5 separate regions of the Homo sapiens genome follow, and regions 1, 2, 3 and 5 are each linked to region 4. The links are contacts of gene promoters, found by promoter capture Hi-C in blood cells and fetal thymus (Javierre and others, 2016). All regions are on one chromosome and are shown on one strand. The core of a region is centred on a gene start or on the middle of the fragment in contact, and the rest is flanking DNA. Distances in the headings are between cores, read along the strand shown. Region 1 holds the start of FAS (Fas cell surface death receptor). Region 2 has its middle 10 kb from the start of STAMBPL1. Region 3 overlaps PANK1-AS1 (PANK1 antisense RNA 1). Region 4 holds the start of IFIT3 (interferon induced protein with tetratricopeptide repeats 3). Region 5 overlaps ANKRD22 (ankyrin repeat domain 22).

Region 1 (2,500 bases), core at 1-2,500, 340 kb after region 4:
AAAATGAGCAATATCTGTTCTGAAGGCTGCAGGCTCTCTCCCCGCCCCCGCGGGGCGGCGCGCACTCACCCACCCGCGCCGGAGCGGACCTTTGGCTTGGCTTGTCAGGGCTTGTCCAGGAGTTCCGCTCCTCTCTCCAACCGGGGTCCCCCTCCAGCGACCCTAAAGCTTCCCAGACTTCCGCTTCAATTCCTGTCCGCACCCCACGCCCACCTCAACGTGGAGCGCAGTGGTCTCCGAGGAGCGCCGGAGCTGCCCCGCCTGCCCAGCGGGGTCAGCACTTCGCATCAAGGCCCAAGAAAAGCAAGTCCTCCAGCGTTCTGAGCACCCGGGCCTGAGGGAAGGTCCTAACAGCCCCCGGGAGCCAGTCTCCAACGCCTCCCGCAGCAGCCCGCCGCTCCCAGGTGCCCGCGTGCGCCGCTGCCGCCGCAATCCCGCACGCGTCCCGCGCCCGCCCCACTTTGCCTATCCCCGGGACTAAGACGGGGTAAGCCTCCACCCGGGCAGGAGAGGGCTCACCAGAGGTAGGAGGGTCCAGATGCCCAGCATGGTTGTTGAGCAATCCTCCGAAGTGAAAGAGCTTCCCCAACTCCGTACTGAGCGGGTCCACCAACCCGCGGGAGAAGAGGCAGCTCCGCCTGGGCAGCCAGGGCTGGCCTCAGGGTGTGTTCCGTGCCAGTGCCCGCCCCTGAGGCTCCAGCCAAGTCACTCGTAAACCGCTTCCCTCACTCCCCAGAAGCGTCTTTGAACACCTGTGTGTCACTCTTGCGCGAGATCAGAGACGAGCTCACGAAAAGCCCCGGTGGTCAGGAGGATGGGAAGGAAGCCTCGCTGGGGAACGCCCGGGTTGGGGAGGGCTCCATTGATTCAGCAACTTGGCCTGCGCGCGGGTAGGGAGGGGGAGAAGTCAGGGTGAGGAAGGAGTCAGGGTTCGTTGCACAAATGGGCATTCCTGTCCCGGGGCGTTCCTGCAGTGGCTGGCATGCTCACTTCAGGTGAGGACCTCGAGAGCCGGCCTCCTGCCCTTTCTAAAGGCTTCTGCTGTAGTTCAACCTGGGAAGTTGGGGAGGTCTTGAAGGAGAATGGAGCTCAGAGCGCAGAGGTCCTGCCTGGGTACAGGAGCCTTGGCTAATTGCTGGAGTCACTCAGAGAAAGACTTGCGGGGCATTTGACTGGGCTGTCCATGTTGTGGCTGCAACATGAGAGGCTCACAGACGTTTCTGGAATGGACAGTTAACCATATGAAAAAGTACAGATGTTGCGCCATAGGGCTCTGAAAAGGGAGGGCCCCTTAGTTTTTATTTCTCAAGAGGAAAACAAAGCTAACAACTTAAGCCAAATCGCATAGCCCCAGCTATATTAAACATTCACAATTACTTCCTGTCCTTCGTTACTCATTATTTCCTGGCCAATTTTCTTTAAAAAAAAATCTTGTAATTCTTTCGTGCTCTGGTGAACACTGTTCAAAGTCACTATTGCTTTGGAACGGTAGATAGCTCTTAGGTAGTTTAGCATGAATTTTACAGAAGGTATGTTTGGATAATGACATCATTACTGAACCTGAATTTGGATGCAGTTCCAGACTGGACACACTAAAGGTTTCAGTATTCCTTTGGCATCGTCCACCAAGCTCTGCACCTCACTCTGCAACCTCTCTCCCTTCCCAATTAGATTCAACCCATTAATAACACATTAATAACCCTTTGCTTAGCCCACTGTTCATCCTTCAGGCTTCCTCTCAGTTGACATTTTCTTCTGGAGCCTGTTTGGGCCCTCAAATCTAGGTTAGGTTACCCTCCTGAGGGCTTTCCATCACCCTGTGTTTTGCATCTGTCACTGCACTTACCACCAGTCTTGTAGGTGTTGATAGGCTTGTCTCTGTTCCACCTTTCAGTAGACTGTTAGTGCCATGAGGAAGACCCTGGGCGTGCCAGCCTTGTGCACACACTCTGAGCATCTAATAGACACAAAAAGAAGTGGGATAAGGAGGATGGTATATGGGCATTCTCTGTATTATCTCTGCAAATTTTTTGAAATCCTAAAACTATTCCAAAATGAAAAGTTCATTTAAATAAAAAAATGTAAAAAGAAGGAAGGAAAAGGGGTGTGAGGGAAGGAAAGGAGAGGTAAGGGAAGAAGGAATGGAAGGAGGGAAGAGAGAAAAAAAGGGGAAAGGACAATTGACAAAATCAGTATCTCTTGAGTGTGAATTATAAGCCAGCAACTCACATATGTGGATCTTCCTTACTTAATACTTATCATTATAGCCCAGTGAGATGAGTGATTATTAAACTTACTTTACAAATAAAAAAATGTAGCCAAAAAAGCTTAAGCAACATTGGCAAAGATGGTTAGTTAATAAATAGCAGAGTCAGGAATTAAACTTAGATATTCTTGCTCCCAAGGTCCTGCTCTTTCTATGCCATACCCCCTTCCCCTACCCTCTGCCCACGTACGTCTAATTATCCTCAAGTTCAAGGAGATAGGAATATGTGCTTTG
Region 2 (2,700 bases), core at 28-2,527, 460 kb after region 4:
ACAGTGTGGCAATTCTTCAAGGATCTAGAACTAGAAATACCATTTGACCTGGCAATCTAATTACTGGATATATATCCAAAGGATAATAAATCATTCTACTCCAAAGACACATGTACAAGTATGCTTATTGCAGCACTATTCACAATAGCAAAGGCATGGAACCAACCCAAATGCCCATCAATGATAGACTGGATAAAGAAAACGTAGCACATATACAGCATGGAATACTATGCAGCCATAAAAAATGAGTTCATGTCCTTTGCAGGGACATGGATGAAGCTGGAAACCATCATTCTTAGCAAACTAACACAGGAACAGAAAACCAAACACCGCATGTTCTCACTCATAAGTGGGAGTTGAACCATGAGAACATATGGGCACAGGAAGGGGAACATCATACACGGGGGCATGACAGGGGGAGGGGAGCAAGGGGAGGGATAACATTAGGATAAATACCTAATGTAGATGACAGGCTGTTGGGTGCAGCAAACCACCATGGCACGTGTATATCTATGTAACAAACTTGCACGTTCTGCACATGTATCCCAGAACTTAAAGTATATATATAAAAAAAAAATTCGATAGGCACCTGTGTTCAACCAAACAGCCATTATTGGCCCCAAGACAGTTGAATTTTAGGTCATCAGGTGTGATCTTTAGAAAATTAAGGTTGAGTCGATGACCCTGTACCCTCTTGATCCAAAATGTTCTTCTCTACTTGGATTATTGGAACCATGAGCACAAGCCACTTTGGCAGAAAGTGAAGCTATTTACTCCAATGGTTAAGACAAAAAGCTCTGGAACCAGATAGACCTGGGAAGCTTAGTTTGCCACTTTGCATTTTTGTGGCCTTTGAGCCAGTAAATTAATTTCTGTTTCCTCATCTATACGACAGGGAGAATAATCCTAATTTAAAGAAAGTTTGTAAATATTCGTGAGCTGGTCTACTAAAGTGCTTAGCCTGTGTGGATACCCAATAAATTATCATCATCATGGTTAGTAGTAAAAGACAATTCTCAATTAGGAAGTAGTAGTTAAGGCTGAAACAGATGAAGAGACATCCCTGAGCTATCCTGTAAGTTCATTAATTCACACACACAGCAATAGGAAGTTGTGTGTGGTGGGGGAAGCAAAATCTGTCTTTGTATTTACAGGGCATTTAACATGCAAATATCCAAGCTTACTTTTCTGGACAATGATGCACTTTACTTAAGTATTTAGTTTCTGTTTCAGCCCTGATGTCAGGGCCAAAAAGAGACATTTGCAATGCAGGCTAGGAGACAAAGGAAACAAAATGCATCTCTTAGCACATGTTTCATTAAGATTTGATACTAGCTTGATTAAAATCTATATTGACTTAGCCTAAGGAAGCTTTTGCAACATAAATAACTTCCTCTAGCATTATCTCAGTGCCTGGAGAATGAGTTGAATTCCAGAAGCTCTTGGATGATGGGGGATGGAATTACGTGTGATCTTCAGTTTCTTCTTTTTCCTTTATTTTTTGAATGGTATTATTTCTCTGCTTTTCCAATATTTCTGAAAAAAATCTATTATTTGTATAATAATAAAAATTTTTAAAGTTGTAAAAGAAATACATCTTCTCTCTAATACACCACTGTAAAAGGCCATTTTGAAAGGGGCTTCAGGCCACTGTGTTCAAGATGATTTGGAGAGGAGACAGACTCGAAGCAATCATCTGGGCTTAAGATGGTAAAACCTTAGGTCTTTCCCCAATATGTTCTCATTTTGGTCTTCCTACTCACTGTAAAAAAAGAAAAAATATATATCATTGAAGAATAAAGATATTTAATGCTGCAGGAGACAAATCTGGTTGCTCTAAAGGATTTCCATGAGCTGATGACCTCCAGTGAGTCCTCTGATGAGGGGATCTAGGACATGCCCCTGAGGACTTGCCTTAAACTAGGTGTTCCTGACAGAGGAGGTCTAGGATGAGCCTGGGGGCTCTGGAAAAACTGCTGGGACTCACATCTGCCTCCTACACTGCTCCTTTTCTGATCAGACAAACATTTCGCCTCTCTTATCCCCAGACTTTTAGGATGCCATTTAACGAATTACCCAACCAAACTTTGAGGCAAACAGCCAACTATTTACCTCTTCTTCATATAAAACTAGAATGTTTTTAAAATAAAGATCTAAAAACAGAAAAATTAAAATCATCTTGTGATCTCACCACCCAGAAAGATCCAGCACTTTGGCTTATCTACTCTTAGATACATCTATTTATACAAACACACATACTACTCCATATATCATTCTATGTTTATTTTACCAAACTAGTATTAGAATATGCATGTTCCTTAATAACTTTTTTCTTTTAACAAATGGAGAACATTTTCCTACATTAAAAAAAAATCTTACAATCTTTACATCCAATTACATCAGCTCAACAAATTGTCACCAGATGACTTCTAAATGTCCAGCACTGAGAGATGCTACAGGAGTCCCAGTTCTGCCACTTACAAGCTCTTTATTCTTAGGTAAGTTACTGACTCTAAGTCTCAATTTCCAGATCTCTAAAATAGCAATGAACATTATATTGACTTCAGTGTTTGTGGGGTGATTCATTAAGGTGATGCACTTAAGGTGCTGATCAAGGTTCCTAGCATGTAGTAAACAGTCAGTATTAAATATCACTGTTAGCATTATTTATAATAGTATTGAGCTTGTCTCTACCATATC
Region 3 (2,700 bases), core at 4-2,503, 320 kb before region 4:
CACCCACAGAGTCTTGGCTCCTTCAGTTCTGAGTAGATTCTTTTAAACCTTCCCTCCCTATTCACCTGAAGAAAGGCCAATATTATTCAAAATTCAGTTTAAGGGTCATTTCCTCCCTGAAACCTGTTTTAGCTTCCACCTCAGCACCACTCCCCCATAAACCCCCACCCCTGACTCTGTCATTGCTCACTCTCTGGGGTCTTCTGGAGTTACCTCCCGCAGCATAGATGGCATACTTTGCTTCCTTCATTGTTTCTCCAAGCCATGATGATCATCTGCATCAAATCCCCTGTTTTTGAAAAAGTTATTTTTTTAATTTTAAAAATATTTATTATCATCTTCGTTATCATCATCATCACCTACTGATGAATCAGTCTATGGGAACTGGACCCAGAATCTGTGCTTACAAAATATCCTGGGTTGCAAGTTACACTGCATGTTCATTTTTTGCAAAATACCTTGAGCTTTATAAGATATGCATACTTTTCTGTATGTATGTTAGTTTTAATACAAATTTAAAAAGGAAAAATTCCCTAGGTTATTCTTACATAACACTGATGCTGGAGAATCACTGACTTTTCTCTCTCTACTGAATTGTAAGCCCTTTGAGGGCAGTGAAGCCATCTATTTTGTCTTTGTATTCCCAGCATGCTTTAGTGCCTACAACATAGTACACACAATAAATGATTATTAAATAAATGAATAAGACCCAAGGGAGTGCACTGGTTTGTGGGTTCCCTTCTCCCTCACTCTCTTCCAAACATTTGTTGCATGCCCCTCCTGGAGGACATGACAGCTCACGCCTCAAAGTTACACCTCCTACACACACCCCTGAATAAACCTGTGAGATGCCACCTGGCTTCTTCCCTACCATACGCTGGGTGTAACTGATCCAAGCACCCAGCCTGACAAGGGTAGGAGAAAGGAAGCAGGTGGAGGACGTTCTGTCCCAGTACCAGTACTTTTGCCCTGCCTGGGTCTGAGCCACCTGGCTCAGGCCTTCCTCAGCAGGCCTGGGAATCCAGCTAGAAAAAATATGTCCTTGGAGATATTGCAATGCTAAAGCTTCTATTTGCATCTCTGATGTAATTTGCTTCCTAAGCCACTCAGCTCAATTATGTGGGAATTTGAAAATGATATATTTGAATATTTAGGAGTGGCTGGTGATTTTTAGCAAATTTACAGTAGAAAGTGAGGGGGACTCTGTGTGAAATATCATCTAAGTCAGGGGTGTCCAATCTTTTGGCTTCCATGAGCCACACTGGAAGAGGAAGAATTGTCTTGGGCCACACATAAAATACACTAACACTAATGATAGCTAATGAGCTAAAAAAAAAAAAGTCACAAAAATAAATCTCATGTTTATGAATTTGTGTTGGGCCGTATTCAAAGCCGTCCTGAGCCGCATGCAGGCTGTGGGCCACAGGCTAGACAAGCTTGATATAAGTCATTTATCCAGTCACAAATAATTACCAAGTGCCTCCTAGGGATAGAGTGATGAACAAGTCATCTGCCTTAAAGATGCTTACAGTGAAGTGGGGTAAGATGGGCAATCAAATAATAATAATGTCTTTTTCTAGCACTTACAATGTGCTGGACACTTTACATATGTTAACCTTAAATAATGAGATTTAGAGAACATGATTAAGTATGAAGTTTGAGTGCAAAGCTTGAGGATAGCCACCTGGAAACACTAACTCCAAATGAGTGGGATCAGTGCTCCAAAGTGGAGAAGTTAAGATTTCACTTATACTGGCAGAGATGGAGAAGTTCCAGCAGAATTACATTTTCCATACAAGACCAATGCATATGCCACAGCGATTTGATTGGTTGCAGACTGCTGCATTCCAAGGAAGATTATTACTCTGTGAGGAGAGGCAGTGATCCAAGGGATTAGTATCTCTGGCCCTGCTCGGTCTTCCTAATTATTTACAAGGAAAAAAGGCAAGCCCAGGCATGGTGGCTCATTCCTATAATTCCAATACTTTGGGAGGCCAAGGTGGGAGGATCGCTTGAGCCCAGGAGTTGGAGGCTACAGTAAGCTACGACTGTGCCACTGCACTCCAGCCTGGGTGAAGGAGTGAGACCTTGTCTTAAAAAAAAAAAAAAAAAAAGCAGAAGTTGTAGCTGCATAGCCACATTTCTCTCAAGTCTCACAAAAAAGTTCCAATAGCTTGAAGTTTGAATTAATTTTACGCATGTGTTATGCATTTCATCAGTCTAACAACTCAGTGATGTCCTATTATTCTCAAGTTACAAATGAGGGAACAGATGCATGGTATAGTTACAAAATGATAAGGAGTCATAAACAGAGTACAAGGAGTAGGAAGAGGGTATGGCAGGGAGACCTAATGTAGCCCTAAGGGTCAGGGAACATTTCTCTAAATATGAGAAGTTAAAGAGGAGATCTAAAGTTGGAGTCTAGTAGACAAAAGAGGTCTTAGAGAAGAGACTTCTCTAAGGCAATGGAAACAGCAGAATGTTGTTTAAGGAATTGAAGGCAGCACAGGGAGCCCCTGATGAGGCAGGAGAGGTAGGGAGGGGCCAGATCACCTGGGTTTTTTTCTCTGTCTTTAAATAGCATAAGGTTAGGGAAGCTAAGAGAGTTGAGATTTGGAGTTTAGTCCCACCTTTGCTCTTAATAACCTCAGCCATCTGTCTGCAGCTCAGTTTCCTGATACGAAAAAAGTATGCAAGAGT
Region 4 (2,700 bases), core at 198-2,697:
GCTATAGACACACCTAAAGACAGGACCCTGTAAAACCTTTCCTGCAAGCTGGCTACTAAGACGCCTTGCTCTCTGGTCAATCCCACTCACACAGACACAATTAACATCACTCTTGACCAGGAACTTATTCTATATAAAAGGGTATTCTATATACTGAGGTATTTGGCAGTGAATTCCTCTTACCCATCTCATCCCCAAACATGACATTGCAGAGCATCTTCAAGTCCTTGGGGCAGAGTAAGGTAGGGAATCCAGTTTTCCTTTTCTGCCCCCCTGAATGGTCGATGGGGTCTTCCCTCCCTGGCAATCACCTCCTCACTCCTTTCCTAGAGATGCTTGGTGGGAAAGGCATCCTTTTCTCTTAGTTCTCCCTAACATGCTATCCCCTGAAGAACTCCAGGAGGTCAATATATAAATTTAAAAATCAAGTTTACTGAGATTATGCTTTATATACAATAAGATGCACCCATTTTCAGTGTATAGTCTGATGAGTTTTGGTAAATGTTTATGCATATGTAGCCACCATCACTACCTCCCTATAGACTATTCCTATGATTCTAAAAAGATTCTTTTGGGAGCCTTCCTACTCAATCCCCACCATCTCCAGGCAACCACTGATCTGCTTCCCACCATTAGAGATTAGACTAGTTTTAGATAATAGATTAGGTCATTACACTTTTGAGGAGAAATTCTTTTTTTGCTGCTGACCAGCATTCACTACATCAATAAAAATAAATGCTAAGCTTTGGGTTTGTTTTTATATAAGAAATGACAAAAATGCCCATTTGTAAGAATTGTTTCTTCCACTTCCCACCTTAAAGTAATGCAACGTTTCAGGGCAAAATTGCCTTCTTCATGAGTGGGTTTGCAGTACTGATTGTATCTTTCACAATATCTGTTGAAAATAAATTCCTCCTTTTAAAATTACAAGAAAAAAAGCCTGTGACTTAATCTTTTCAAACAAAATGACAATAACAGAAAAACCCAAAAGAGTAATTCCCTTAGGTCTACCCTTGAATCAGCCAAGTTTGTGGCTGAGTGAAATACACCGCTCCTGCCAAGCCTTCCTCTCATTGCAGGAAATAGCTGCACACAGGGAGGAAACATGAGCTGATGCATTCCCCACCCTGCCTCCCCCCATGTAGTTCCGTAGGGAACCATTCCAGAAACTTAAGAAGCCTGTGTGTACACCAAAAAAAGCCACAGGGAAAAACCCCTCAAACATCTTACAAATGCTCAGACTGATAAAGACATATTGAATCTATAAACATCAGGACAATTCAGGAATGTGCCTGCACAGTAAGAAACTCAACTTACAATTTGCACTCAAAAACAAGCATGATTATGCATTCTTATTTCACTGACCTCATGACTGCCCTCTGTGTCTCTGCTGTTCCGAAAAGCTGGTGACCAGGCTGATTTGTTCTTCAGAAGTCTTCCTGTCTGCCTCAAGTAAATACTGAAGGAACTATATAAAGGGGTGGGAGAGTAGGGCACGCATCAGCTGATGTTTTCTCCGTTTTTGAGTAATTGCTTTTAGGGGAAGGAAGAGGAAACTGGAAAGTGAAACTAATTTAAAATCGTTGGGAGGAGGAAAATGAAACCTAACGGCTTGAGACCTGCAATGGCTGAGCCAGAGTACGTTATTCAAAACTGTGACTAAAATTTGTTTGAGAGAATGTGGAAGCATTCCTAATGTAAACCAAAAAATTAAATTCTAAGGCCATACTCACCAACCATGTGACTGGACCCCTGCTTTTGGCCAAGGGCATTCCAAAGTTAACCTGAAAACTGATGTGAAGGGGAAGCTGGATATGCCTCATTACATCCTTTTTCCTTTTGGAATTACTAATAGAACACACTCTTTTTTTGTTTTTGTTTTTGTTTTTTTTTGAGACAGAGTCTTACTCTGTTGCCCAGGCTGGAATGCAGTGGCATGATTGCGTCTCACTGCAACCTCTGCCTCCTGGGTTCAAGTGATTCTCTTGCCTCAGCCTCCCGAGTAGCTGGGATTACAGGCACCCACCACCATGCCCGGCTAATATTTGTATTTTTAGTAGAGACGAGGTTTCGCCATGTTGGTCAGGCTGGTCTTGAACTCCTGATAGCAGGTGATCCAACCACCTTGGCCTCCCAAAGTGCTGGGATTACAGGCATGAGCCACTGCACCCAGCCAGAACATGCTCTTTTTAAGTGTATTAAGAAACATTTACAACCTATTCTCTCTGAAGCCTGCTACTTGGAGGCTTCATCTGCATAATAAAACCTTGGTCTCCACGACCCAGACATTCCTTTCTAATGATTGTCTATTGAATTTCTATTGGATGTCTCCAAACATTCCTTTCTATTGATAATAACTCTTTCAACAAATTGTCAATCAGAAAATCTTTGAATCTGCCTATGACTTGGAAGCTGCCCCGCTTCCCTGTTTCCAATTGTCCCACCTTTCTGGACCTAGCCAATGTACACCTTACATGTATTGATTGATGCCTTATGTCTCCCTAAAATGTATAAAACCAAGTTGTGGCCTGGCACATGTTCTCAGGATCTCCTGAGGGCTGTGTCACAGGCCATAGGTCATTCATATTTGGCTTAGAATAAATCTCTTCAAATGTTTTACAGAGTTTGACTTTTTTTGTCAACATTAGGTATCTGACCATCAGTCTAGGGTGGGGCCCAGGAAACAGCATTTTTTAAGCC
Region 5 (2,700 bases), core at 165-2,664, 500 kb after region 4:
AACTAAACTTTTTGAGATGGCCATCTGAATAAATTTTGAATTGAAATGCTTTATTAGTAAAGAATCCTTTTCTTAATTTTTAGAAAGAGAGAACCTGCTTGCATTATGCTGTGAAGAAAAAATTTACCTTCATTGATTATCTACTAATTATCCTCTTAATGCCTGTTCTGCTTATTGGGTATTTCCTCATGGTGAGTACAACACTTGTAGAGCAAAGGGCAAATGTGGAGATCGATGGTGTGACTCATTGACTCTTGCCAGGCCAGTGAGATGTTGAAAAGAAATAAAAACAAAAAAAGCCTTTGGTTTGTATTCTGTAATTGACATGTTCAACATACATCCAATGCTATAATTGAAGTACAGCAAGAAGAAAGCTAGCAAAAATAGTTAATCAATGGTAACATAATCCATGCAATGTTGATTTAGAAAAATAATTTAACCTTAACTAAGACTTTTCTGAAGGGAGCAAAAAAATTCTGAATATTAAAAAACACCCCTTCTAATATTTTTTTCTCCTTTTTTTAAAAGAGGAGTTTGTGTTTTTGGATTTATCTTTCTGACTTACTGATTTTTAAGTACTCCTCTGGTGGTGTGTTGAAAAACAGATCCTAAAAGTTTGCATCCAGAAGCTGACACACACAGAAGATACTTGTTGAGAATTTAAGCCCATTTTCACCTTGATGAATTTCTTCATGCTTGGATGAATCTTGGCAGACAGCAATTTTCTTGAATAAAGAAAGATGTAGTTGGTATAGAGATGCAGTCATATGAGGAGTAGAAGATGAAGCTTGAGATGGTTTTTGGTTTTTTTTCCCAATAGGGTAACAGATCTGCACTGACTTACTCACTTTTATCCATCTAGTTTCCTTTGTGCCCAGTTCCACTTCTCAGACATGACTCAAGAGATGCATAATTTACTTTAATTAAATGACCAAGCTCCCTCCTTGTTGTAGCTCATAAACTGTGAATATTGGTTACACCTGTTAACATCAGCCGCAGAACAAGTCTGCCCGTCAAAAATGTTATTATTTCATTGGGTATTTAAATGCCACAGAATTTGAGGAACTATAATTAAACATGACAATGTTGATTTTTATATTTGGATTTATAGGAGAGAGAAAAGAACTTTAATTCACTAATAAAAATATAATCTGCTCATATCCTCGAAGAATTCTTTAAAAATTCATTATGTATTTAGCACATAGCATTTAAATACATGTATTTTGGGGGCAGGGAGAATCTGTTATTTATTTACAAACATTTTTAGAGATTCTAAAGGTAAAAATTACAACTGTGATTAGAAGGCTCATTCAGAATTTATTGACACACAACTCTGCTTTCTAAGATGGTTCAATGTTTAGAGGCTGGAGGACTGGGCAAAAATAGTAATCGTAATGAATAGCTCAACTCTAGTTTCATGCACGTGCAATTTATTAATGGGGCCTAAAGTTGTAAATTTGTGATGAATTAACAAATAAGTGACATGAGAGGAAATGATAGGGGAGGAGAGAGGAAAGCATTGGGTTATTTCAGAGAAAAGTAGGCAGAGAAAGGCAGTTTAGGAGGTGACACAAGAGGGAAGCCTAAGGAGAGAGAACTGGATGGAGCTTCCCAGGTGATGACAGGGTTGAACTCCAGGGCTATACCCAGCTGAGCAGGGAGAGCTTTGCCTCTTCAGGAGACTGGAAGTTGGGGAAGACTCCAACAGGCTTGTGGTCAGAAGCTCAGGAGACTGGGAAGGAAAAGTGAATTTCTGAGGAGTCCTAGTTCATTTCATTAATTTGTTCAATTCTTTAACGTATGTTTATTATGGACCTACTATGTGCCAGACGCTGTGCTAGCTGTTAGGGACACAATGATGAACAAAATAGGCATAGTTTTTTACCCCATGAGAGTTAGAGGGTGGTGGGGAGAGTCATTAATCAAATGGCACAAACACATGTAAAATTACCATAAAGCGGGTGATACAGAAAGGCGACTGGTGTTAGGATAGCTAAAAAAGAGGGATTTCACCTGGTCAGGTGGGTCAGGGAAAGCTTCTTAGAGAAAGAGGGACTTGGGCTGATGAATGAAAGGTGAATATGCCAGGCAAAGAAGAGAGGGAGGAGGCTTCTAGGCAGAAGGAACTTCCTGTGCAATGATTCTCTGAGAATGAAAGATTAACAAAGGCCAATGTAAGTAGAACAGAGTGAGCCAGGAGGCGCAGAGTGAGAGAGAGGCCAGGGCAGGGCCATACGTGGAGCCAAAACATACGGGGCTTTGTAGGTCATGCTGAAGAGTTTACTTTTGTCCTCAGAGCAATGGGAAGTAATTGCACAGCTTTGAGCCAGGAAGGGAAAGACAGGTACTAGGCCCCATCCTCAGTGGAATTAGGTAGGTTTGGGGTGGGACCTGAGAAGTACATTTCTAAGGTTCTTAGGTGTCAGTGCCGCTACTTCAGGACCACAGTCTGAGAACCTGGCTTTAATTAATTGATATTAGAGTGAGTGAGAAGCTGGGGGAAATTTTAGGAAGGGTGCATGCATGCATAGGAGTGTTGGGATTAAAATGAAGCCTATTGATTAAATAGTCTCAGGCATAAATTGGAGAAACTATTTGTAAATAAGCCTTTCTTATAATTACCATTTGTAATAGGTATCAAAGACAAAGCAGAATGAGGCTCTTGTACGAATGCTACTTGATGCTGGCGTCGAAGTTAAT

Evidence for each region. Contacts are between HindIII fragments. The CHiCAGO score rates a contact against its expected background, and 5 or more counts as called.
Region 1: a contact is called between a fragment that was not itself captured here and the fragment with the promoter of IFIT3 in region 4, in 1 of 17 cell types (activated CD4 T cells). The highest score is 5.1, in activated CD4 T cells.
Region 2: a contact is called between a fragment that was not itself captured here and the fragment with the promoter of IFIT3 in region 4, in 1 of 17 cell types (non-activated CD4 T cells). The highest score is 7.3, in non-activated CD4 T cells.
Region 3: a fragment that was not itself captured here is called in contact with the fragment with the promoter of IFIT3 in region 4 in 1 of 17 cell types (erythroblasts); the score reaches 5.8 in erythroblasts.
Region 5: a contact is called between a fragment that was not itself captured here and the fragment with the promoter of IFIT3 in region 4, in 1 of 17 cell types (non-activated CD4 T cells). The highest score is 6.1, in non-activated CD4 T cells.

Annotation. Positions count from the first base shown.
Region 1 is chr10:88,988,926-88,991,425 of GRCh38, reverse strand. It overlaps FAS (Fas cell surface death receptor), which reads right to left and starts at 628. Exons shown (of 9, transcript NM_000043.6): 1 at 520-628. The coding sequence starts at 549. It overlaps FAS-AS1 (FAS antisense RNA 1), which reads left to right. Exons shown (of 1, transcript NR_028371.1): 1 at 1-4. It also overlaps a transcript of ACTA2 not described here. RefSeq lists enhancers at 1-312, 453-963, 964-1,475 and a silencer at 1,883-1,932. The HindIII fragment of the contact is 2,159 bases long and covers 171-2,329 here.
Region 2 is chr10:88,868,794-88,871,493 of GRCh38, reverse strand. No RefSeq gene overlaps it. Among named protein-coding and RNA genes, the nearest start is that of STAMBPL1, 10 kb to the left of the region's middle. The HindIII fragment of the contact is 192 bases long and covers 1,182-1,373 here.
Region 3 is chr10:89,646,512-89,649,211 of GRCh38, reverse strand. PANK1-AS1 (PANK1 antisense RNA 1) reads right to left here. Exons shown (of 5, transcript NR_184344.1): 2 at 214-289; 3 at 1-65. Among named protein-coding and RNA genes, the nearest start is that of PANK1, 2.6 kb to the right of the region's middle. The HindIII fragment of the contact is 371 bases long and covers 1,068-1,438 here.
Region 4 is chr10:89,326,744-89,329,443 of GRCh38, reverse strand. It overlaps IFIT3 (interferon induced protein with tetratricopeptide repeats 3), which reads right to left and starts at 1,447. Exons shown (of 2, transcript NM_001549.6): 1 at 1,366-1,447. The coding sequence starts at 1,370. It also overlaps a transcript of LIPA not described here. RefSeq lists a silencer at 1,070-1,119 and an enhancer at 1,440-1,679. The HindIII fragment of the contact is 8,842 bases long and covers 746-2,700 here.
Region 5 is chr10:88,826,050-88,828,749 of GRCh38, reverse strand. It overlaps ANKRD22 (ankyrin repeat domain 22), which reads left to right. Exons shown (of 6, transcript NM_144590.3): 3 at 84-191; 4 at 2,635-2,700. Among named protein-coding and RNA genes, the nearest start is that of ANKRD22, 24 kb to the left of the region's middle. The HindIII fragment of the contact is 1,249 bases long and covers 790-2,038 here.